7 separate regions of the Homo sapiens genome follow, and regions 1, 2, 3, 5, 6 and 7 are each linked to region 4. The links are contacts of gene promoters, found by promoter capture Hi-C in blood cells and fetal thymus (Javierre and others, 2016). All regions are on one chromosome and are shown on one strand. Each heading gives the region's core, a stretch centred on a gene start or on the middle of the fragment in contact. The rest is flanking DNA. Distances are from core to core; before and after follow the strand shown.

Region 1 (3,499 bases), core at 704-3,203, 340 kb before region 4:
TAATAGCCAAAAAATAGAAACAACCCATTTGCCCATTCATTGTAAAATGGAGAAACAAATTGTGGTGTATCTATACAGTGGAGTATTATTCAGCAATTAAAAAAATGAACTATTGATATGCAGAAAAATGTGAATGAGTCTGTAATTATGCTAAGTGAAAGACTCTTGAAAAAAGGAGTACATATTATATGATTCCATTTATATAAAATTTTTAGAAATACAAACAAATGTATAGTGACCGAAAGCATATCAGTGGTTGCCTGAGGCTGGGGGAAAGGGGCAAAGTGGGTAGGAAAGACAGATGGCAAAGGGATACAAAGAAACTCCAGAGGATGATGAGTATGTTCACTGTCTTGATTTTGGAGACGATTCTGGGGATGTGTTTTAAACTCATGAAATGGTAAACTTTATGTGTAGTTTACTGTATGTCAGTTACACCTCAATAAAGCTAGAGAGACAGAAAAAAAAAGAAAGAGACAGAGAGAGAGAATTCATGAGTAAATATACAATGTATCATTAGGCCGGTCACAGTGGCTCACACCTGTAATCCCAGCACTTTGGGAGGCCGAGGTAGGTGGATCATCTGAGGTCAGGAGTTCAAGACCATCCTGGCCAACATGGTGAAACCCCATCTCTACTAAAATACAAAAAAATTAGCAGGGCGTGATGGCAAGTGCCTATAATTCCAGCTACTCGGGAGGCTGAGGCAGGAGAATCGCTTGAACCCCGGAAGGCTAAAGAGCGAAACTCCATCTCAAAAAAAAAGAAAAAGGGCCGGGGGTGGTGGCTCACGCCTGTAATCCCAGCACGTTGGGAGGCCGAGGAGGGTGGATCACGAGGTCAGGAGATCGAGACCATCCTGGCTAACACGGTGAAACCCCGTCTCTACTAAAAATACAAAACATTAGTTGGGCGTGGTGGCGGACGCCTGTAGTCCCAGCTACTTGGAAGGCTGAGGCCGGAGAATGGCGTGAACCCGGGAGGCGGAGCTTGCAGTGAGCCGAGATCCCGCCACTGCACTCCAGCCTGGGCGACAGAACAAGACTCCGTCTCAAAAAAAAAAAAAAAAAAAAGTGTCATTATAATATCCTACAAAATGGAAAAAATGTGACAGAGACTGCTGCTCAGATTCTGTCCCACCCAAAAGACGGTGTTTCAGGATAGAATGATCCCAGAAAGTCCAGTTGGCTGACACTTCCCCAGATCTTTTATACAAACTTTTCCTTTACTAGAACACCTTTCTCTCACCTTATTGCTGTTGACTATCAACATATTTTTCAAGCCCAGCTCAAATCTAAACTAATCCCTGAAGCTTTCCTTGTCTTCTCCAGGCAGTTAGTTTGTGGCTCAGTCTGTGCTTTCCCAGCAACTGGGAATCCAGTAATATATCCCCCTTGATATTCTAGGATGTAAGATTTGTGGTTTCAGCTGTTCCCAAAAGACCATAAAGGTCCCCCAACTTGTACTGATTTGTCATTTTACTGAGGCACAAATTTGATTCCAGCCAGCTATGAAGTCCCTACAGAGAAGGAGTAGATGAGATAGTGAGTAAGACGAGCCCCCACCTACCCCCAAGACTTCATAACCCAAACCAACTTTGTTGGCATCTGCTTAACATAACAAATTTTAATTTTTCTTTTATGAGGAATGGACTGCCCACCCCACCCCCAACGGAAAAAAAAACTATCATCTGGTGATGGAAATGATGAGTGAGTGAAACAGTCCAAAAATGGAATGGTCCTTAGCCAGAAAATAGCTTTATAAATTACTTTAATCTTGTATTAAGAATCTGGAAGGGTCACTTAAAAATCTTAGTTGTACTTCACAGAATTTTATGGGGAGAAGTTATATACTACAGCGAAATTAACTGGATTAGAAATTTGAAAAGGCTTTGGGCCTTGCCCCTCAATAATGTTAAAAGTTCCCAGTAGCTCTAGTGAGTACTCATCACATTGCATTATAATTATGTGTTTAGCTATCCATCTAGCCTAAGAAGCAGTCATCTACGCCCTAGAGCTACATCATCTGGGTTCAGATCACAGTTCACCTAATAACCAACTTGAACAGGTTACTTAACTTCTAGGTGCCTAGATTTCTTCATCTTTAAAATAGTAAAATAGTACCTAACTAATCACATTAATTTTGAGTATTAAATATGGCAATACATAAAAAGCACTTAAACCAGAGTCTTACCCATCAAAAGTGATTGATAAATGCTAGTAACTAGTTTAAGAGTTTGCTCAAGGGCAGAGTTTATGTCTTAGGGAGCTTTTTTAAAATGTGTAGTTCTCCAGAGGCTTAATGCAGTGGCTTATGCACATACTACGTGCTCAATGAGAGCTGAAAGAATGAGTGAATGAGTCAGTGAGTAAATGAGTTATGGCTCTGCCACTTTGTCCGTAAAGTAGAAATTGCTTTATTCTAGTATAATAGCGGCATTTTGGCTTGGCTGGTCTGGTATTCGGACATAACTAATTCTGGCCAACATTCTCACAACTATCAAATCCACTACTGCAACCAATTTGCAACTTTTGAGAAACATGGTGCTATGATTGAGAGTGAGTAAGAGGAGCAGAAAGGACTGACGGAGGGGCAAAGCTTTACCTCTGACATGGTTTGGATGTGTGTCCCCTCCAAATCTATGTTGAAATGTGGTCCCCAATGTTGGAGGTGGTTCATGGCGGAGATGTCTGGGTCATGGAGGTGGATCCCTCGCCAATGGCTTAATGCTGTCCTCACGGTAATAAGTGAGTTCTCACTTTATTAGTTCACATGAGAGCTGGTTGTTTAAAAGAGCCTGGCATCTCTCTCTTGCTCCCTCTCTCACCATGTGACATGCCTTCTGCCATAAGTAAAATCTTCCTGGGGCCTCACCAGAAGCTGAGCAGATGCCACCACCATGTTTGTACAGCCTACAGAATCATGAGCAACATAAACCTGTTTTCCTTATAAATTACCTAGTCTCGGGTATTCCTTTATAGCAATGCAAAATGGACTAACACCTGTTGACCATGGTGGAGAGATGAGGAATAGAATCTGCCAAAACTGTTCAAGAGATGCAGACAGACAGAGCTGCCTTGGTATTCAGGTAGCACCCTTGCCCCCTGAAGTCTATGTTCAACCCAGCACCCAGTGTCATCCTTTTAAAATGTAAATTGGATCATGTCACTTTCCTACAGAAAACCCTCCAGTGGCTCCTTGTCTCACTTGGAACAAAACCCAAAATCCTCCCAATGGCCTGGAAGGTCATGATCCAACCAGTGGTGCCTCTCCCCTCCCACCTCCTACCTTGCTCCTCCTTGCACTCTCCACTCTTGCCTTTCTGCTGGACACTGGCCTTCTTGGTGTCCCTCAGACACTCCCAGGAGACTCCTGCTTAGAGTCTTTGCACTTTGCTAGTCCCTCTGCCGGGTATGCTTCTCCCCAGAAGTTCATGGCTCACTTTGCCACTTCATTTGAATATCTGCATGAATATCCGCTCCCTTCTCTGTCCACCTAC
Region 2 (3,342 bases), core at 690-3,189, 320 kb before region 4:
CAATGTAGGGAGATCCTGTCTGTAGAAAAAAAAATTTTTTTAATTAGCTGGGCATGGGCTGGATTCAGTGGCTCACGCCTGTAATCCCAGAACTTTGGGAAACCGAGGCAAACAGATCACCTGAGGTCAGGAGTTCAAGACCAGCCTGACCAACATACAGAAACCCCATCTCTACTAAAAATACGAAATTAGCTGGGTGTGGTGGCACATGCCTGTAATCCCAGCTACTCGGACTCGGGAGGCTGAGGCAGGAGAATCACTTGAACCCAGGAGGCAGAGGTTGCAGTGAGCCAAGATCACACCATTGCACTCTAGCCTGGGCAACAAGAGCAAAATTCTGTCTCAAAAAAAAAAAAAAAATTACCTGGGCATGGTCGCATGCGTCTGTGGTCCCAGCTACTCAGGAGGCTGAAGTGGGAAGATCACTTGAGCCCAGAAGGTGGAGACTGCAGTGAGCTATGATTCCACCATTACACTCCAGCCTGAGTGACAGAGCGAGACCCTGCCTCAAAGCAAAAAAAAAATAGAAAAAAGTAAAGAAAAGAAAAAAAGAACTGGCCACATAATCCAGTGTTAGTGTCTCTCCTCACAAGAAAATACGAAGAAAAATACTGGCCATGGGCTGGGTGGGGTGGCTCACGCCTGTAATCCCAGCACTTTGGGAGGCTGAGGTGGGTAGATCACCTGAGGTTGGGAGTTCGAGACCAGCCTGACCAACATGGAGAAACCCCATCTCTACTAAAAAATATATATATATATATAATTAGCCAGGCATGGTGGTGCATGCCTGTAATCCCAGCTACTTGGGAGGCTGAGGCAGGAGAATTGCTTGAACCCAGGAGGCAGAGGTTGCAGTGAGCCGAGATCGTGCCATTGCACTCCAGCCTGGGCAACAGTGAGACTCTGTCTCAAAAAAAAAAAAAAAAAAGAAAAGAAAAAGAAAAGAAAGGAAAAAAGAAAAAAACAGGCCACAAAGAGTTGGAACGAGCAGAGATGGGAGAGACTGAGCAGGAAAGCTTGATGTCCTCAGGGCCGCCAAGAGAAAAGGAAAAGAAAAACAGTGTCTAAGGCTTCATGGGGCACAAGTTCGGGGCCAGGCATATCCACACAGTTTATCAACAAGATGGTGTTTGCAAATCTTAAGGGTGCAGTTTCACTTGCAGGCAGGAGTGAGACTGCAAGGGGAAGAGGAGAAGCTGCAAGGTGGGAACAGGGAGCAGGGAGTGTCTCAGGGAGAATTGTGCAGGAGGTGGAAGTAGAAGTCATGTCCCAGAACAGAGGCATCCAGCACCCTGCTTTTGTGTACGTGTGGTAAGAACACTTAAAATGAGATCTAACCTCTAAATAAATGTTTAAGTGTACAGAACATTACTGTTGACCATAGGTATGATATCATACAGCAGATCTCTAGAGCTTATTCATCTTGCTGGACTAAAACTGTATGCATGCACATTGATTAGTAACTCCCCACCTCCCCCTCCCCTCAGCCCCTGGCATTCCACTCTTTGCTTCTATGAGTTTGACTCTTTTATTTTATTTCATTCCAACAGCCTGGGAGAGTTTGACTATTTTAGGTGCCTCACACAGGTGGAATCATGCAGTATTTATCTTTCCATGACTGGCTTATTTCACTTAGCAGCTTGTCTAAAGTTTGGTCAAGGAGAGAGTCTTTGTCACCAGTTGGCTGGGGCACAGAGAGTGAGGGGGCAGATCTGCTCTGGCTTATTCTGGAGAGATAAGCAGCAGTCAAGGCTTTGTAAATCCAGTTATCCTAAGAGCACTGAGAAGTTCTAATTGGGAAGGAAGTGATATGACATGATCAGATTGTGTTTTCTCAAAATCTACTCAGATTGCTCTACGGAGAACAGGCTGGAGGGGGTGAGAAGGAATGCTGGAAGACTAGTTAGATTGCCAGTGCTATTGTCATGACAAGAAAATGGGCAGAACAAGGTGATGGTGGTGGTAGAAACAGACATAGAGGGATTTGAGAAATGTAAAAGGTGAAACTGACAGGACTTGGTGATAGATTGGTGGCAGGGAGAAAAAGGTATCAATAAATGGCTTGGTATCTCATTTAATCTTTACTACAACCCTGTGAAACACATTATTATTTCCTCCATGTTATGGATAAGGGATTTGAAACTCAAAGTACTTGAGCGACATGCCCAGATCACACAGCTGGTAGGTCTGGCTCTAAAGTGACGCCCGCTCCACTATGTTATACAACAGTCAAGCAGTTCTTCCTTAAAGAATGGTCTCTTTCCTCGTACACCACTGAAGGCTATGCCTAGTCAATACTTCTACTAATAGCATGGTACTTCACCTACAATATTCTCATTATCTGTTTGCCTATACAACAGGAAAATAAATAAGAATATTATCACAGAAGCCGGCCGCAGTTTAAGCCAGCTGACCTCCAAGGACAGTACAAATCAATTCCTTTGCTGAAGAAGGTGACTTCTTGGGCTTATCTGGCTATAAAAAGTGAGGGCCCCTGAAGAGAGCTGAGATAAGAAAGGTTAGGGCAATAAGAAATTAACTTGCTCTGCATGACAAAGTTACAGGAATTTTGAAGAAGGAACCATAGCCATTAATATAGTTTGGATGTTTGTCCCCTCCAAATCTCAGGTTGAAATGTGATCTCCAATGTTGGAGGTGGGGCTTAATGGGAGATATTTGAGTCACGAGGATGGATGCCTCATGAATTGCTTGGTGCCCTCCCCATGGTCATGACTGAAGTTTCATTCTATTAGTTACCATGAGATCTGATCATTAAAAAGAGCCTGGACCTCCTGCTCTTCTCTCTTGCTCCCTATCTTGCCATGTGACATGCCTGCTCCCCCTTTGTCTTCCACCATTAGTAAAAGCTTCCTGAGGCCTCACCAGAAGCTGAGCAGATGCTTGTGCCACTCTTGTACAGCTTGCAGAACCGTGAGTCAAATAAACCTCTTTTCTGTGTAAATTACCCAGTCACAGGTATTCCTTTATGGCAATGCAAAGTGGACAACTACAACCATCATGCCCATCACTGTAACCCTAGTGCCTAGAACACAGGTACTCAACATATTTTGTTGAATGAATTTGCTTTAAGAAGGGGGTTATGTCTGGAAGAGAAGATGGGAGGCAGGGTCTGGAGAGAAGTGGCGTTAGAAATTAATGAAGAAACAGGAGTGGCCGGGCACGGTGGCTCACGCCTGTAATCCCAGCACTTTGGAGGCCAAGGAGGGCAGATCATGAGGTAAAGAGATGGAGACCAGCCTGGCCAACATGGTGAAACCCCGTCTCTACTAAAAATACAAAAATTGGCTGGGTGTGGTGGCCCACATCTGTAGTCCCAGCTAC
Region 3 (3,241 bases), core at 532-3,031, 370 kb after region 4:
CACTCCAGCCTGGGCAACAATAATGAAATTTTGTCTCAAAAAAAAAACAAAAAAAACAAAAAAAACAAAAAAAACGTGTATTTGTGGCCAGTCACAGTGGCTCATGCCTGTAATCCCAGCACTTTGAGAGCCCGAGGTGGGTGGATCACCTGAGGTCAGGAGTTCGAGACCAGCCTGGCCAAAAAGGCAAAACCCCGTCTCTACTAAAAATACAAAAATTAGCCGGGCATGGTGGTGCACACCTGTAGTCCCAGCTACTAGGCAGGCTGAGGCAGGAGAATCGCTTGAATACGGCAGGCAGAGATTGCAGTGAGCCACTTACTGCGGAGGATACAGGTTAGAGAGCATTAATTTCTAATGGCCCCATTTGGTATAGTTTCATAGGAAAGCTCTGAAACTATAATGTAGAAAGGAACTAAACTGCCTCCTTTTTTTTTTTGTAAGGTTCCTGCCTATGCCGGATTTCTTACCAGAGTTTGTTAAGTCTGCTCAACAGCTAAGGGAAGAAGGCTAAGAGTAAGTTTCATTCCGCTGTCTTGGCTTTAAAAGTTTGGTTTGGACTGTAGCATTGGATATGGCCTTGTTTCCAATATATACTTCAATATTAAAAAAAAAAAACAGAAAAAGGTTTTTAAAAACATAATTATGACTCCATAATCTGCCATGGGAAAGATTGCTTTCAGTTACTTTCTATGAGAACCCTAACCTAGGCATTATCATTCTTTTTAACCTGCTCAGATTTTCAATTTATGTCAGAAAACCCATGTTAATGTCGAACCTGCCCCTGCCTCAAGAGTAACTTGGTTTAACCTCTTGGGGCTTGTTGCATCATCAGCAATAATTGTCTTGCCAATGTCACAGTCACTGAAGGAGCAAACAAGATAACAGATGCAAACGCCCTTTGAAAAGTTCACTACGTATAAGTGAACCATCACTATTATTCTCAAAGTCTTATTTACAACCTTGGATGGCTGAATGAGCATAAGATGGCCAGACTTCACTGTTCCTAGTAAGTTTTCCATAGCCTCTGCTTTAGGAGAAATAAATTTCCTCACATCCAGTCTTTGCTTTGTTGACTGCTCAACACCCTCTTGTCTCGCTTGCTTTTCTGAGAGTGACCTTGACAGCATCCCTCCAAAGAGAAGGGTATTTCCTTTATATAGACATGCAGGTGCAGTCCCACCAAAATTTATTGAACTCCAAGCTAGAACAAAAGGTGGAGGTGCACCGATGAAGAAACAGGGCCTCTGCCTTCAGGAGCTTACAAGGCCATTAACAGAGAGTGATATTGATCTTATGCAAATGGCAGTTGCCGCCTACTTGCAGAAGAGCAGGGGCTACAGCCAAGCAGCAGGGGGCAGAAGAGGCTCGAGCTCGGCTCTGGAGGCCGATCTGGCCAAAGCCAGGATAGAAGCTCCCGTGACCCATTCGTGTGTGCGACTTGGAAGGCAGCCCTTCTGCCACTCCCCTTTCTTAAAGCCCAGAGCAAATAAAAGATCCTTTTCTACTACAGTAGATATACCTGTAGTCAGGACTTTGAACTCACAGCTATTCGCCGCACCATTCCCTCTTAAGGAACTACTGCGCCCTCCAGCGGAAGAACAGCGGCGGAACTCCACAGCGGCAGCTAAAATCCCTGAACGCTTTAAAGTCCTTCTCCTCAAGATACTCGGCTGCGTCTGGCCCCGCCCCTCACTGAGTTCCGCCCCGGGCGCAACCTCATCTTATGGCACCGATTGGCTGGCCCCTGTGCGTGAGGACGTTGCGCCGTGGGGAGGGGCGGACGAGAGGTGTCCGTCAGGCCGTGTGTCCCAGGCCGTCGACCCCGCTGTCGCGCTGCGTCTGCTCCTTGCATGCCTTTAGATGGTACAGCCTTCAGCCGGGGCTTCGGGAGACAGTGCAGCCACCGAGCATCTCTGCTGAGCTTCTCCGCCGATCCTCCTTTTCTAGCAGGCAGCTCTTCTAGGCCACGTCCAGGTCGAGGGGGAAAATGGCGCCGGCGCCCCTAGGCGTCCCGGAGGAGCAGTTGCTGGGGTGTCGATCTAGAGTGCTTTCTCGGTTACTCTTCATTGCCCAGACCGCTCTCCTCCTGTTGCCCGCCGCCGGAGCAGGTCTCTGCCCCGCGCCCTGCTCCTGCCGCATTCCTCTCCTGGACTGCAGTCGCAGGAAATTGCCCGCACCGAGCTGGAGGGCGCTGTCGGGCTTGCTGCCCCCCGACACCGCTATCCTGTGAGTAGAGCGGCCAGGCAGAGTGACCAAAAGGAGGGGGAGCCTTCCCTCTACAGGGGGCAGGCAGGAGGGAGACAGGCCTGGTCGGAGGGTGTGGTCGAGAGCCTAAGCTCTGAAGGAAACTGCCGTCAGGATTTTATGAACTTTGTTTTAGGTGGTGGGAGCCTAAAAAAGCCGGTGTTAAGGTTTCTGGAGAATTGTATGAAGACGAGGGTTAAGATTCTTGGGGCCAAGGAGTCTGTGATTTCCTCAACTGGGGAGGAAATGGGGCGGGCATATTTAATGGTAAGGACTCACGGGTCCTGGGCACCAGCATTGACTTTGGATGGTTGGTGGGGCGGGGGGTGGGTTGAGCACGGAACAGTGCTTTCTGCTTATCTTGAGCTGCATGATTTGGTGTGTACCTCAGACTTAGTGGTCCTCAGGCACGTGATTTTATAATCACAATCGCCAAAGACCTATGAACTGTCTTTAGTCCTTAGTTCGCATGTTGGCTGATTTTGTGCTGCAGTTTTGATACTTAACAGGGTTGAAAAGTTCATTATGATGAATCAGGAGATCCTGTAATTCAGAATATCTTTGTAAGTAGCATTCTTGATCTAATTTAAACTTCACTGTAAAGAGGAGGAGTATTTTTTGCAGAACCATTTGATGCTTTGTTTTCAGCGCATCTTCTTGTGGCAAAGAACCCAAAAATCAGTTCTGCTTATTTATGTAGGTAAAGCAGGTACAACGGTTGAATGAATTCTGGAGTTTCCACTGTTGAGTTTTCACTTTGACAGGTCTTTATTAGACAGTGGAACTTGGAGGGCTCCTTAGTCTGAGTCAGCCTGGTGGTATTAGGAACAACAGCAGGTATTAAATGCTGCAATTATGGGGCTTCTTAACCACTAACATACAGTTATTTCTCGTCACTAACTGAGCAGCACGTTTATTAACTGACAGATTTCTGATGGAGTCGTTAAGAAAGAGTCATCAATGGGCCAGGCGCGGTGGCTCACGCCTGTAATCC
Region 4 (3,534 bases), core at 50-2,549:
CATGAGTATGCCACTGCTGTCCCCCCAGCAGGGTAATTCAGACGGCACCAGAGTGGTGGGAGGCAGAGGACAGAAACCCGGGGTTGAGGCATGCGTTAAGGGACCTGGAGCCTCCAGCCCAATTAGAAGACTTTCCCTCCAGGCTATGATTGGGCCAGAACAGCAGGCAGCCCAGGCCAGGACACTAGGCCCAAGGCCAAGATGGCATGGACAACTCCCTGTGAGAGGCAGCCCCAGAGGGACTGTCCCACTGACCCCTTAAGAGGGGCAACTGAGCCCCACACAGGGCCTGGAATGGAGCCTGGAACTTCTGGGGCCTTCCCCAAGACAAGACAGTGTGGCTACATCAGACCTCTCTCCAATCGCTCTCTTGAATTCCCAGATGATCCAGAGCGGCCGGTTGACTTTGCCGGCCCACCCTACACCTAGGGAAGGAATCCGTTCTGGAGATACCAAGAGATACTGCATTCTCAACTTTAAAACCAGAGTGAGGGCGGGACTCGGCCTCGGGATCCCAGTCCCAAACCCCAGGATACTCTTTCTTGGTTCGAGTATGAAGAAGGAGGATTCTCAATCTCATTTTCTCTCTCTCTCTCTCTCTCTACACACACACACACACACACACACACACACACACCACACACACACACACACACACACACACACACACACACACACACACACACACACACACACACACACACACACACAGAGTTGGATCCTTCCCCATCTCCCTTATCCTCAACACAAGCGGGCTCCAGGAACCGTCCAGGGCGGCGTCCAGACCCTGCCGAGCAGTGGCAGGCCCCAATGGTCACATCCCGCCCCTATTCCCGCCATACCTCCCTCCTGGCCTGGAGGAATTCCCACCCCATCCCACTCTAGGTCCCCTGCGGCCGCCCACCCTGGGGGCTGGGGCGTCTGAGTTGAAGTTCCCTCGCCCCTCGCCCGGCGGGGCAGGTTCCGGGAAGCTGGGAGGAGAAGGGAAGGGGCTCCGACTCGGACCTCAGGAGGCCAGAGCCCCTGCCGGCAGGTCCGGGCCCCCTCGCTGCAGCCCGGGGAGGGGCCGACGCGGTCCGACCACCGCCCAGCCCGGATGCCGACTCCGCTTGGAGGGAACGGGGTCCACGCCCAGGCCGAAGCCCCTCCTCGCACGGGCCCCGATCTCCGGGCCAGCGAGGAAGGGAAAGTGCTCTCCTGGGGACGAGTTCCCAAGACGCCCCACCGCCCGCAGCCCCGGCCCAGGGTACCTTCCGCTCCGCCGCCTCCAGCTGCGCGGCCGGTGCCGGAGGCTCAGACTGACCCCAGGGCCCCGCCCCGCCCTCCTCCAGCGCCGCGGCGGGGAGGGCGGGCCCGGCAGGGGGAGGGTCGGCCGGGGGCGGCCCTTGGCTCGGCCCGCCCCGGCCCCGCGCAGGGCCGCAGCCACCGGCCCCCTCCGCAGGCCGGGGACTGGGGGCCAGGGGCGTCCACCCCTCCAGGTCGGGGAGAGCCACGGGGAGATTCCTGGACTGCGGAGGAGCCGGGCGAGCGGGGGGAGCACGACCCGGGTGGACTCAGACTCTGCCCAGCCTTCAATCCCCTAGGGGAGGACCGGCGTCGGGAAAGTTAAGAGGTGCTCGGGGTGGGGTCAGGAAGGGCCGCTGCTGCCCTCCTGTGGCCAAGCGGCCACCCGCTCCTGCTGCACCTGGGACCTCGCGGGAAGCGGGACTGGGAAAGGGTATCCGCCGGGAGGTCCCAGGGCCCGGCGCGGGTGTGTTGGTTGGGGGGAGATGTCCACCCTCTTGTTCCTAGGATCGTACAGCCCAACGTCATCCCCCAAACTTGAAGACCTCTCAGAGCCGTTCAGACCCAGACCACCGTTCCTCCTCACAATTCGCTTTCTTCCCTGGGCCTGGAATTTCCAGGAGTCCAATTCCTACCTACTCCTCAAAGGGTGCGCCTAGAAATGCTTCTGGATCCCAGCTGTGAATTCTGTTCCCACTCCTAGGTCTGACTTGGCGCATAGGATATTTACCTACACGCGTATCTCCTTTCCCTGTAAGGGAGCTGAGGAGGTGGGAGTAGAATGAGGACGTCCACCAACATTTCATTGGCTTGTGCTTGGGACACTACACAGCTTAACCCTTTCAATATTCATCACAGATCTCTGGGGAAAATATACCCATCCCCTTTTGCCCATAGAGAAGCTGAGGTTCAGAGAAATCAAGTGGCTTACACAACTGTTTTTGACTTGTGACAGCAAGAATTCACACAGCCGGGCCTGTCTGGCTCCAAACTGGTGGTCTGGCCCTGCTACCTCACGGGCTCCTCCAGCCTGTCCCTTCCCCCGTTGTCTAGCAGAGTGAGTGGCACATAATAGGTTGTCAACAAATATTTGATGAATGAATGAATGTTAGGAGTCATACAGACTTTAAATATCTGAAGTGCAATCCAGACATTTGACAAATGTGAAAACAGGTCCGCAGCAGTTTGGCCCCAGGCCTCTTAACTGACTCAATGAACATTTCTCGAGGGTGAACTGAGAGCTATGTTCGGAAGATCCATTTCTGCCTTCAAACAACTTAGAGTCTAAATGAGGAATGCAATTTCAAGATAGCTAACATTTATTGAATCCATATTACATGGACCTGGGTCCACATACATTAACTACAAGAATCCCATGAGGTAGCTATCTCCATTTTACTGAGAAGCAAATTGAGGTTCAGAGAGGTTACAGAGCTAGTGCTGGGTCTGACACTAGAACCCAAACAGCTGAACTCTAGAGCCCCTGTTCTTAATTCCTACTCCCTACTGACTCCTAATGTAGACAGTTACAATACCGGAGGTCATTGCTGTAGTGTGGGCATGTGTGGGCTGTGCGATACCCAGTCCTGAACAACAGGTGAAGTTCTCAAGATAAGGTGATGTGTAGATTTTTTTAATTTTAATTTTTTTTTGAGACAAGGTCTCTGTTGCCTAAGTGTGCAGTGGCAAGATCTCAGCTCACTGCAGCCTCAACTTTCCAGGCTCCAATGATTTTCCCACTTCAGCTTCCCCAGCAGCTGAGACTACAGGCGTGTACCATCACACCTAATTTTTGTATTTTTTGTACAGATGAGGTCTTGCTATATTGCCCAGGCTGGTGAGGGGCCTTTTCTAATTATTTTGCTCATCTTTATTTTTGCTTCCCTTAACTTACTTTGGGTTTAATTTGCTGTTCTTTTTCTAGCCTCTTAAGGTGGAAACAGATCACTGATTTGAGATCTTTATTCTTTTCTACTATAAGCAATACTCTTAATTTCCTTGGATGCTTAACTGCTTCCCACAGGCACTCACCACTACATTCAGCTAATTTTTTATTTTTTTGTAGAGATGGGGTCTCACTATTGCCCAGGGTGGTCTTAAACTCCTGGGCTTAGCAGTCCTCTCACCTCTGCCTCCCAAAGTGTTGGGATTACAGGCGTGAACCACCGTGTCCAGCAGTAGATTTTGAATAAGTTGGAGCTACTAAAAGCCCACAGTTATGCAAACCCCAGGAAGTTGGTGGTGGTGGTA
Region 5 (3,280 bases), core at 381-2,880, 410 kb after region 4:
CTATGATTGCGCCAGTGTACTCCCGCCTGGACAGCAGAGCAAGACCCTATCTCTAAAGTTTGTTTTTGTTTTTTTAAATTTATAAAACTATATTCACTCTCAATCAGAGAGCCTGTCTTCACAAAGAAATGGAACATTAGGGGGTGTCTTGCCTACTAGATTCTTTCATGCCTATTTGTATGCATATATGTGTCTTTGTTCCCTTGCCCACTTTTTCTTGGTGATTTTTCTGGAAACAGAGATGCCATCTTTTCTGAAAACGCCAATGGATCTGACTATTCGCACTGGTGCCATGGCCAGATTAGAATGTGCTGCAGAGGGACACCCTGCACCTCAGATTTCCTGGCAGAAAGATGGTGGTACTGACTTTCCTGCGGCTCGAGAAAGACGCATGCACGTCATGCCCGAGGATGACGTCTTCTTTATTGCCAATGTGAAAATAGAAGATATGGGAATCTATAGCTGCATGGCACAAAATACAGCAGGAGGTCTCTCAGCAAATGCTTCCCTAACAGTGTTAGGTACGTTTACTGCTCCATGGGTCCCTGCTTTTGTTGGAGTCTTTGGGAGCTACTCTTGGTCTTAATGAGCAAGAAAAATAAGTTTGAGATTACCTCTGTGATTCTTAGATCTTTATCTTATTTCACAATTTTATGCAAGGTTATGTCAGTCTAGGAATTAGTGGGTCAGATAACTGAAATGTGGGAAAATACATAGGGCAAAATTAGGTAGGCATCCTTGTCACAATAATTGAAAGTTCAAATTCCTTTATCAGCTTATCTTTTTAAGTCCCTCTCTGTAAGGTTTCTGTTTCATGTAGGTGTGTTTACTATTCACTGAGTTTGCATTGAGAGTTCCACTGTTCTTTTAGGAGTATCCCAGCCATTTGATGCTGCTTCACTTATTGCTTGATAGGAACCTAAGACTATTTAACTGTTTGCTCCTAGTTCATTTTCAAAAAAAATTTAATACAAAAAAAAAAAAAAAAGATGTGTTTTCTGGTTAGAGTTTCTGCTTTCCTTTTCAGTGTGTTCTTCTTAACCCTATTTCTGGTAAAATGCCTTTTTTCCTAAAAATTTTCCCCTGCTGGCCTGGGTTTTTTTTGTTGTTGTTGTTTGTTTGTTTTGTTTTTTCTTCCTTATTACAATACTTTTCTTCGTGGAACTCAAATCCAGGGTAAATTCTACTTTCCAGTTCTCTATTTTCCTATATGTCAGTTATTATTATTATTTTTTTTAAGTTTGTTGGTTTGTATTGTTTACTTGTATAACCAGAAAAATAAGAAGTCATTTATTTATTTATTTATTTATTTATTTATTTATTTATTTATTTATTTATTTTGAGACGGAGTCTCATTCTGTTGCCCAGGCTGGAATGCAGTGGCGCAATCTCGGCTCAGAGCAACCTCCACTTCCCGGGTTCAAGTGATTCTCCTGCCTCAGCCTCCTGAGTAGCTGGTACTACAGGCATGTACCACTGCGCCCAGCTAATTTTTGTATTTTTTTTAGAGACGGGGTTTCACCATGTTGGTCAGGCTGGTCTCGAACTCCTGACCTCATGATCCGCCTGCCTCAGCCTTAGAAAAATAAGTCATTTATTGTTTTAACATGTTAAGATATACAGAAAATTAGGAAAAGGGGAGGAAAGTCACTCAAATACTTAAGGATTTTAGCATATTCTAGACTTTCCCCTCTCACTTTTATGTAGTCAAATATACCTACATTTTTTTCATTTAATATTGTACCACAAGTTGCCTTGTTATTAAAGTCTTTGTAAAAGATCATGTGACTATAATTTACTTAATCATTTTTCTGCTAGATTTAAAAATGTTTTTCTTTATTCTTTAAAGTTACACATTTTGTAGTAAACATCTTTGCGTATAAATCTTTGAATTTCTTTTTTTTTAAGTTATTTTTAATCTTTTTTAATGGGTCACCGCTGCTCACCCCCTCCAGCTATTGCAGCTGCCCTGAACTTCTTTCTTAGGATAGCTTGCCTAAGCTGGAATTATCGAGAAAAGATTGAGGCTTTTTTCAGGATTTTGTTCTGAAACATTAACTTCTAATCCTCCCATGAGTATATAAAATTACTCATTTTATTATACCCCCATTGGTCTAATTCAGTAGAAATTAGGGAATAAAATTGCCTAACTTTTCATTTTTTTTTTTTTTAATGTTTTCCTGTTAGAGACACCCTCATTTATTAGACCCCTGGAGGATAAGACAGTAACACGAGGTGAAACTGCGGTGTTACAGTGCATAGCTGGAGGGAGTCCTGCCCCTCGTCTCAACTGGACTAAAGATGATGGGCCTTTGCTGGTGACAGAACGACATTTCTTTGCTGCAGCCAATCAGCTTCTCATCATTGTAGATGCCGGGCTAGAAGATGCTGGGAAATATACCTGCATTATGTCTAACACCCTTGGGACAGAACGTGGCCACATTTACCTAAATGTCATTTCATCCCCCAATTGTGACTCTTCCCAGAGTAGCATTGGGCATGAAGATGATGGCTGGACCACAGTTGGCATTGTCATCATTGTTGTGGTCTGCTGTGTTGTTGGCACTTCTTTGATCTGGGTCATTGTTATTTACCACATGAGAAGGAAAAATGAAGACTATAGTATCACAAACACAGGTAAGTAGTACCCACATGACACCTATGGCTTGTACTTCAGTCAAGAATGTAGTATAGGATTAATTGTACAATATAAAAAACTGAGAGCTGGTCATAGTAGCACATGCCTGTACTCCCAGCTACTCAGGAGGATGAGGTGGGAGGACTGCTTGAGCCCAGGAGTTCAAGGCCCACCTGGGCAACATAGCAAGACCTCATCTTCCCCCTCAAAAAACTGAAGAGCTGTGATACATTACCTGATATGTGATAGAAGGGAGTTTTTGTTGTTAAAATGTTCAACTTCTTTGATATAACAGAACCTCTTTGAGGAATAGGTTCATAACAGAACCTCTTTGAGGAAAGAATTTTGTTTATTTGAGATAGGGTGTTACTGTAATGCCCAGGTCAGAGTGTATCGGTACATTCATGGCTCACTGCAGCGTTGACTTCCCAGGCTCAGGTGATTCTCCCATCTCGGCCTTCTGAGAAGCGGGGACTATAGGCATGTGCCACCGCGCCTAAGTTTTTATATTTTTAGTAGAGTCGGGTTTTGCCATGTTGCCCAAGCTGGTCTCAAACTCCTGGGCTCTAGCAATTTGTCCACCTTGGCCTCTCAAAGTGCTGGGATTACAGGCATGAGCCACTGCGTCTGACCAATTTTAAG
Region 6 (3,362 bases), core at 106-2,605, 350 kb after region 4:
AAGTGGAAAGGGATCAACCAACAACCATCCTCTACAGTCATAATGAAAATTCAGAGGACTCACTAAAAGCCTTGATTTTCACATAATCTTACTGATCTTTAGTACCCCTGAAAACTTCACACTCAAAGCCTCTGTTTAATCCATTGATTCTCAATGCCTTCAGAGATTCTGACTTCACTGGCCTAGATATAAGCATTTTGTTTTGAGCTCGCCAGGTGATTCTAATGAGCAGACAGAGCTGAGAACCATTGCATTAATCTTTCATGATTGCCACTTCTGCAGTCATATGCTTAGTTTTACATACAGCTGAACTATGTTGAAACTAAACAAGAATGATAAAGTCAAACATGTAATACAAATAATAATAACTCTTATTGAGAATTATGTTTCAAGCACATTGCAAGATGTTTTACATACATTGTCTCATTTCATCTTGTGAAACACAGAATATTATCATTATTATTATTTTTTTTGAGACGGAGTCTCACTTTGTCACCCAGGCTGGAGTGCAGTGGTGCAATCTCAGCCATGGCAACCTCCGACTCCTCTGTTCAAGTGATTCTCCTGCCTCAGCCTCCTGAGTAGCTGGGATTACAGGTGTGCACCACCACGCCCAGCTAATTTTCGTACTTTTAGTAGAGACGGGGTTTCACCATGTTAACCAGGCTGGTCTCGAACTCCTGACCTCGTGATCCGACTGCCTCGGCCTCCCAAAGTGCTGGGATTACAGGCCTGAGCCATTGCGCCCAGCCTATTTCTTAACTTAGTTGTCCAACTTAACTTAGTTGTCCAAGATCACGTATCTAGTATGTGGCTAAGACAGAACTTGAACCCATATGTACCTGACTTCAAAACTCCATGCACTTAACCCCTGTTATAAATTGTTTGTTCCAGAACCATGACTAGAAGAGATCTCATTTAGAATTCAACAATTTCCCAGAGCTCTTTAGTCCCTGACCCACCTGTGTATTTGTCAGGGCCTGCCAGGTCACATTTAGGTGGGTTTTTTTTTTTTTAACTACCTCTTAGTGCCTCCTGCACCATCTTCCATGTTTTATATATACTGTATTGCACACACCCAGATTACATTTAGTATATAGCCACAGGTATAAAAAAGGGTGTGACAAATGTGCTTACGGATTACATATTGTGCACTTTAGAGTTTATATACACACTTATATTTTACACACATATAAAAATGGTGAATATAATGTAGGGAAGAGAATATTGACTCAGAGTTCCATATTTGACTAGCACTGTGACCTTACAGGCACATTTGTTGAATTTCTTTTTAATCATATGTAAAATGGGGAGATAATGCGTGCTTTTCCTAATTGCACTATTATCTAAGGATCAAATGAGATCCCACACCTAGCAAGGTGTCTTGCTTGTACATTTTTATTTGCCAGCTAATGAGCTGTACCTATGAAGTCTTGTAAATATATATGTAAAAGCTGCTATCACCTTTTACAGAGTAATATTGCACCTTTGTGTATCTTTGTTGATTAGCCATAAACTCTCCCTCCCCTGTTTCTCACCTACTGACAAATTTCTGGAATTCTGTGTAATAAGCACGGGTCAGAGGTTGGAAATGTAATAGAAAACAGAGGAAAGGACAGAAGGAAAGGGAGTGAGAGAAATATTTGTTCAATTGACATACTAGCATGTTTTGATTTGTTTTTAACTAAAAAACGAGTCACTGTTGGCTAGGTTTATACACTATTGTTGGAAGTGTAAATTGCTAAAAATTTTGAAGCGGGGCTGGGTGATGTGGCTTATGCCTGTAATTCTAGCACTTTGGGAGGCTGAGATGGGAGGATCACTTAAAGCCAGAAGTTCAAGACCACCTGGGCAACACAGCAAGACCAACAAAACTCTATTAAAAAAATAGCAAGACTTTACTAAAAATTAAAAACAAAAAAAAAATTATCCAGGTGTAGTGGGATGTGCCTGCAGTCTCAGGCCTGTAGCCCCAGCTACTTGGGAAGCTGAGGTGAGAGAATCGCTTGAGCTCTGGAGGTCGAGGCTGCAATGAACTATGATCATGCCACTGCACTCCAGCCTAGGTGACAGAGTGAGACCCTATCTTCAAAAAAAAAAAAGAAATTTAAAGAGCTAGTTATCAAACTGAACATCAACATATAAATCCCACTTTGTATTAGATAATAAAAAACAAAAAATTAAGCTCACATTTATACCAAGATTTACACAGAGAAGGTACAAAAAGATAAACAAATGATTAAATTAACCATGGCTATACCTCGTGGGTGGGGTGTCTGGGAGGGGAAGTTTCACTTTTTATTTAATATTCTTCTGTATAGCTTGTTTACAAGCATTTACTATTTTTTGCAAAAGTGAAATAAGCCCAGAGCAGAGAATAGCTAGATATGCATACATCAGCTGTACTCCTGTGTTATTCTTCCTTGGCTCCTCTCTGCAAGGCCAGTTTACTGTCCCGGGAGGGTGCTGACCCCTGCCTGCCTGGTTCTTCTTGTTCTGTTTTGCAGTTCATTACCAGCTGCTTAAGCAGCAGGTTCCCAGTGGCTGGTCAGCTGGAACTGCTTCAGGAGGACAAACAGGAAGGATGCAGCTGCCAGTGCAGATTACCCTGTTAGCCTTATTGACAGGAAAAAAAATTTAAACCTTAAAATGTTGAGGAAAATGTCATGCTATTAACAACTCCCTCATGCCTCTGCCTAGATCAGGCAGTGAACTGGATTTGGGTTGCTCGGAAGGAATCCTCACAATTGCATGTAACAAACTTCCAGCTCCACGTCCTAGCAACTTGCCCCCAACACTTGGTTAGGGGTTACGTTCCACAGGCTAGATCCCATGGCAATCCTATCCCCCTACGTCAAACTAAAGCTTCCTCCATGGAAAAATAAAACGTCTCACCATTCCTGCAGCTAGCCTTCTCTCATGCAGGATGCCTGCAGGAGCTCAGAGTAAAGGGAAAATTCCTTATAAGACAATCAAGGTAAGAAGTGCAGCTGTAGTGGATGAAGTGCAGGTAGATGGGTATCGTATCTCTGCTCTGACACTTTCTAATCATGTGGCTTTAGGCAAATGACTTCACCTCTCTTAGACTAAGTTTCCTCATCTGTAAAATAGGGAAAATAAATATACCTGCCTCATAGGGTTGGACATAGAGGAATGCAAGTGCTATATTTATTTATGCAGTAAGCCTCATTTCCTATCACTCCCCACAATAGCAGTGGTTAAGAGTTCGGGCTCTGGGCCGGGCGCAGTGGCTCACACTTATAATCCTAGCACTTTGGGAGGCCGAGGTGGGCAGGTCAGGAGATCGACAACACAGTGAAACCCTGTCTCTACTAAAAATACAAAAAAATTAGCTGGGCATG
Region 7 (3,483 bases), core at 464-2,963, 390 kb after region 4:
ATTGTCAGAAAATATTGGTAGATATCAAGGGTAATTTTGAGATTCAATTTTGTTTGTTTTTTTTTGAACCAAGCTTTCTAAAAGGTAAATAGAGATTTGTTAAACAATGGCTTACTGTATATAATGATAATTAGCATGTGTGCCAGTGTTTTCCAGTTTACAAAGCATATTCACACATGCTGTTTTGTAACAACCTAAATGAAGTAGGTAGCTTCTTAATTTTGTAGATGAAGAAACAGAGCAGTTAAATGATTTATAAAGTTGTGGATGGGCATTAAGTGATAGAGCTGGGGGCTTAGACATAGATTTTTGGCAGCTTTCTAGTGGTAGAATTTTTATTTTACTAAATTTTTTCTTTTGCTATTATCTTGTTTATTTTAGGAATTTAAGTAATAACAGAATAACCACCTTGGAGGCTGGTTGCTTCGATAATTTATCAAGTTCCTTATTAGTGGTAAAGTTAAACCGTAACCGAATGAGCATGATTCCACCTAAGATCTTCAAGCTGCCTCACCTCCAATTCTTGTGAGTAACGAAATAGACGGATTATAAGAAGATAGTTTTTTCTTACAGGGTCTTTTTCTTTTTAATTTAATTACTGTTAGAACATTTTAGCAAACCAATTTCCTGACTGTAAAACTATTTTTGTTAAAGGGAACTTAAAAGAAACAGAATTAAAATTGTGGAAGGTCTTACATTCCAAGGGCTTGACTCCTTAAGATCTTTGAAAATGCAGCGGAATGGAATTAGCAAACTTAAGGATGGAGCATTTTTTGGCTTGAATAACATGGAAGAACTGTAAGTACTCGGGACTAGAGGTGATTATTAGGAAAGTAGTCTGTTTGGGACTTTTCAGTGTCGAATGGCTAGGGTAGTTGTTCTGATTATAGAGATACATTCATTCATTCCCTGGTCACTGATGTGAAGTAAGCGTACATAAAACCTTTAAAGTTTTGTTAGCTAACTGATCAATTTTGAAATAATTCTTACAAACTTCTCATCTAAAAAGTTTATATATATATATATATTTTTTTTGAGATGGAGTCTCACTCTGTTGCCCAGGCTGGAGTGCAATGGCGTGATCTCAGCTCCTGCAACCTCTGCCTCCAGGTTCAAGTGACTCTCCTGTCTCAGCCTTCTGAGTAGCTGGGATTACAGGCGTGTGCCACCAGGCCCGGCTGATTTTTGTATTTTTAGTAGAGATGGGGTTTCACCATGTTGGTCAGGCTGATCTCGAACTCCTGACCTCATGATCCACCCACCTTGGCCTCCCAAAGTGCTGTGATTACAGGCATGAGCCACCGTGCCCGGCCAAAAAGTTTATATTCTTAATGTTTTGGCTAATGAAAATTACCAGAATTTATCCAAACAGGTATACTATACCACTTGGCCTGTTGGTTTTGTAGAGCTCCTATTTTAGACAGTCTTACTACCTTCTAGCACTAAATCTCTTTTTTTGTTGTCGTTGTTGAGATAGAGTCTTGCTCTGTTGCCAGGCTGGAGTGCAGTGGCACAGTCTCGGCTCACTGCAACCTCTGCCTCATGGGTTCAAGCGATTCTCCTGCCTCAGCCTCCCGAGTAGCTGGGACTACAGGCGCGCGCCACCGTGCCCAGTTAATTTTTGTATTTTTAGTAGAGATGGGGTTTTACCATGTTGGTCAGGGTGGTCTTGATCTTTTGACCTTGTGATCCGCCCACCTCGGCCTCCCAAAGTGCTGGGATTACAGGCATGAGCCACTGTGCCCGGCCAAGCACTAAATCTTAAATAAGATATTCATTTTTATTGAATAGAATTGGTCAGCTCAGTTGGGTTGAACAAAGGTATATGCTTCTCTGGGAAAAACTTAAGATTTAAAGCTAGTTATTGAACTGCCTTGTTTTGGAACGTATTTTCTTCTCTTTCTCTAATTCTGCAGAGAACTGGAACACAACAACCTTACACGAGTAAACAAGGGGTGGTTGTATGGCTTGCGAATGTTACAGCAGCTCTATGTGAGCCAGAATGCTATTGAAAGAATCAGCCCTGATGCATGGGAGTTCTGCCAAAGACTATCCGAACTGTAAGTGTTGGATAGCATTTCACTGGAGGCAGTTAAGACTAGAGCAGATTGGAATAAATCATTCCCATGGGCAGTAATGAGATGTAACATCCCTCTTTACTAGAAATTTGTAGAAAGCTCTAAATTTACCATGTAGATATAATAAGAATTGTAAGTTGAACCAAATACAATGAATTCCTTACCTTCCACATTTCTTGTTTTCAGTGATTTGTCCTATAACCAGCTGACCCGCCTGGATGAATCTGCCTTTGTGGGTCTGAGCTTATTGGAGAGATTGAATTTAGGAGACAACAGAGTCACTCATATTGCTGATGGTGTATTTAGATTTCTTTCCAATCTTCAGACATTGTAAGTATATCCATTCTCCTTTTTGGTTGTTGTTACTGATTTTTTTAGTACAATAAAGCAAATTAATTAAAACAACTAATCAGTCTGCAAATTCTGTATGCTAACATTTTGTGGTTCTTCTGTCCTATGCCTCAGAGCAAGGCAGTCTTATTTGTCTCCATCCCCATAAAAATCCCAAGCCTGTCGTAGGCAATTCAGTTTGTAGTTTAATTCTGAGTTAATCCCATAAGCATCAAAGCATGTCTTATTGTGTTAGTTGCTGTGGAATAAAACACAGTTGCTAGTGTCAGGAGAGCAGTCATTTTCTTGTTCCTTTGACTTTGACAATACACCAGAGCTACTAGTTCTCATTCGAAAGGATGCAGGTTGTGTAGTGGGAACTGCCGTGGTAGGAGACCAGTTCACTGTTACTGGTTTGCTACATGACTTTGGACAGAAGAAACTAATACTTATTATCTGATATGTGCCAGGTACTTTCAAATACTAGGATGATACTGCTGTTTTCCATATTAGGAGGCTGAGGTTCAGAGAAATTTAAATAATTTTCTCTAAGTCACATAGCTTGTAAATGTTGGGCCAGAATCAGATCCCAGGTCTGTTTGATGCTAAAGCTCATGTCCATTTTATCATACCAACAGAAGAACAAAATCACTTAGCTTTTCCTGGCCATCATTTTTTTTTCTCCTTTATACGGTGAAGGAAGGATATAGGATTAGATGGTTGCTAAAGGCAGTTTCCACGCTAAAATTCTGTGGTTCTGTAAGTTATTCAATTTACAGAATATAAGAATGTGTTTTTGTGAACTTTATATATTTATATATAAATATATCTAATTTTAGAATATAATTTTATTAAATGAAGAGGTATTTTAATGAAATATAGTAATCTCAAACACAGAGCAGAATAAAAGAAAACAAAGAGTAATTAGTAGAATTTGTAGATTCTTAAGCTTCCTGAATAGAGGACTTTGTGGTCATTAGGTTTCGAGTTGAAATGGTTCAGAGAAGAGGCAGGTTCCCAACTTGGAGACATAACCATCAATGAGAGGGAAAACAAGATAATTTTGTGAAGGGTA

What was found. Contacts are between HindIII fragments. The CHiCAGO score rates a contact against its expected background, and 5 or more counts as called.
Region 1: a fragment that was not itself captured here is called in contact with the fragment with the promoter of RHOC in region 4 in 2 of 17 cell types (naive B cells and endothelial precursors); the score reaches 6.1 in naive B cells.
Region 2: a fragment that was not itself captured here is called in contact with the fragment with the promoter of RHOC in region 4 in 6 of 17 cell types (naive B cells, endothelial precursors, total B cells and 3 more); the score reaches 9.6 in naive B cells.
Region 3: a contact is called between the fragment with the promoter of LRIG2 here and the fragment with the promoter of RHOC in region 4, in 15 of 17 cell types (endothelial precursors, neutrophils, M0 macrophages and 12 more). The highest score is 11.3, in endothelial precursors.
Region 5: a fragment that was not itself captured here is called in contact with the fragment with the promoter of RHOC in region 4 in 2 of 17 cell types (endothelial precursors and activated CD4 T cells); the score reaches 5.7 in endothelial precursors.
Region 6: a contact is called between a fragment that was not itself captured here and the fragment with the promoter of RHOC in region 4, in 10 of 17 cell types (megakaryocytes, neutrophils, endothelial precursors and 7 more). The highest score is 13.0, in megakaryocytes.
Region 7: a fragment that was not itself captured here is called in contact with the fragment with the promoter of RHOC in region 4 in 1 of 17 cell types (endothelial precursors); the score reaches 6.2 in endothelial precursors.

What each region holds. Positions count from the first base shown.
Region 1 is chr1:112,364,848-112,368,346 of GRCh38, forward strand. No RefSeq gene overlaps it. Among named protein-coding and RNA genes, the nearest start is that of LINC02884, 6.0 kb to the left of the region's middle. The HindIII fragment of the contact is 1,286 bases long and covers 1,311-2,596 here.
Region 2 is chr1:112,382,268-112,385,609 of GRCh38, forward strand. No RefSeq gene overlaps it. Among named protein-coding and RNA genes, the nearest start is that of CTTNBP2NL, 12 kb to the right of the region's middle. The HindIII fragment of the contact is 1,851 bases long and covers 1,015-2,865 here.
Region 3 is chr1:113,071,417-113,074,657 of GRCh38, forward strand. LRIG2 (leucine rich repeats and immunoglobulin like domains 2) reads left to right here and starts at 1,782. Exons shown (of 18, transcript NM_014813.3): 1 at 1,782-2,229. The coding sequence starts at 1,991. LRIG2-DT (LRIG2 divergent transcript) reads right to left here and starts at 1,686. Exons shown (of 3, transcript NR_103777.1): 1 at 1,523-1,686. RefSeq lists enhancers at 1,253-1,502, 1,561-2,094, 1,753-2,062, 2,095-2,626, 2,243-2,302 and 1 more. The HindIII fragment of the contact is 20,110 bases long and covers 1-3,241 here.
Region 4 is chr1:112,705,828-112,709,361 of GRCh38, forward strand. RHOC (ras homolog family member C) reads right to left here and starts at 1,300. Exons shown (of 6, transcript NM_175744.5): 1 at 1,251-1,300. RefSeq lists a silencer at 1,020-1,739. The HindIII fragment of the contact is 12,151 bases long and covers 1-3,534 here.
Region 5 is chr1:113,112,240-113,115,519 of GRCh38, forward strand. It overlaps LRIG2 (leucine rich repeats and immunoglobulin like domains 2), which reads left to right. Exons shown (of 18, transcript NM_014813.3): 14 at 240-521; 15 at 2,188-2,637. Among named protein-coding and RNA genes, the nearest start is that of LRIG2, 41 kb to the left of the region's middle. The HindIII fragment of the contact is 4,473 bases long and covers 1-3,280 here.
Region 6 is chr1:113,054,664-113,058,025 of GRCh38, forward strand. All of the region lies in intron 1 of LRIG2-DT (LRIG2 divergent transcript), which reads right to left. Among named protein-coding and RNA genes, the nearest start is that of LRIG2-DT, 17 kb to the right of the region's middle. The HindIII fragment of the contact is 3,015 bases long and covers 1-2,863 here.
Region 7 is chr1:113,093,958-113,097,440 of GRCh38, forward strand. LRIG2 (leucine rich repeats and immunoglobulin like domains 2) reads left to right here. Exons shown (of 18, transcript NM_014813.3): 5 at 382-525; 6 at 655-798; 7 at 1,917-2,060; 8 at 2,265-2,408. Among named protein-coding and RNA genes, the nearest start is that of LRIG2, 23 kb to the left of the region's middle. The HindIII fragment of the contact is 3,284 bases long and covers 72-3,355 here.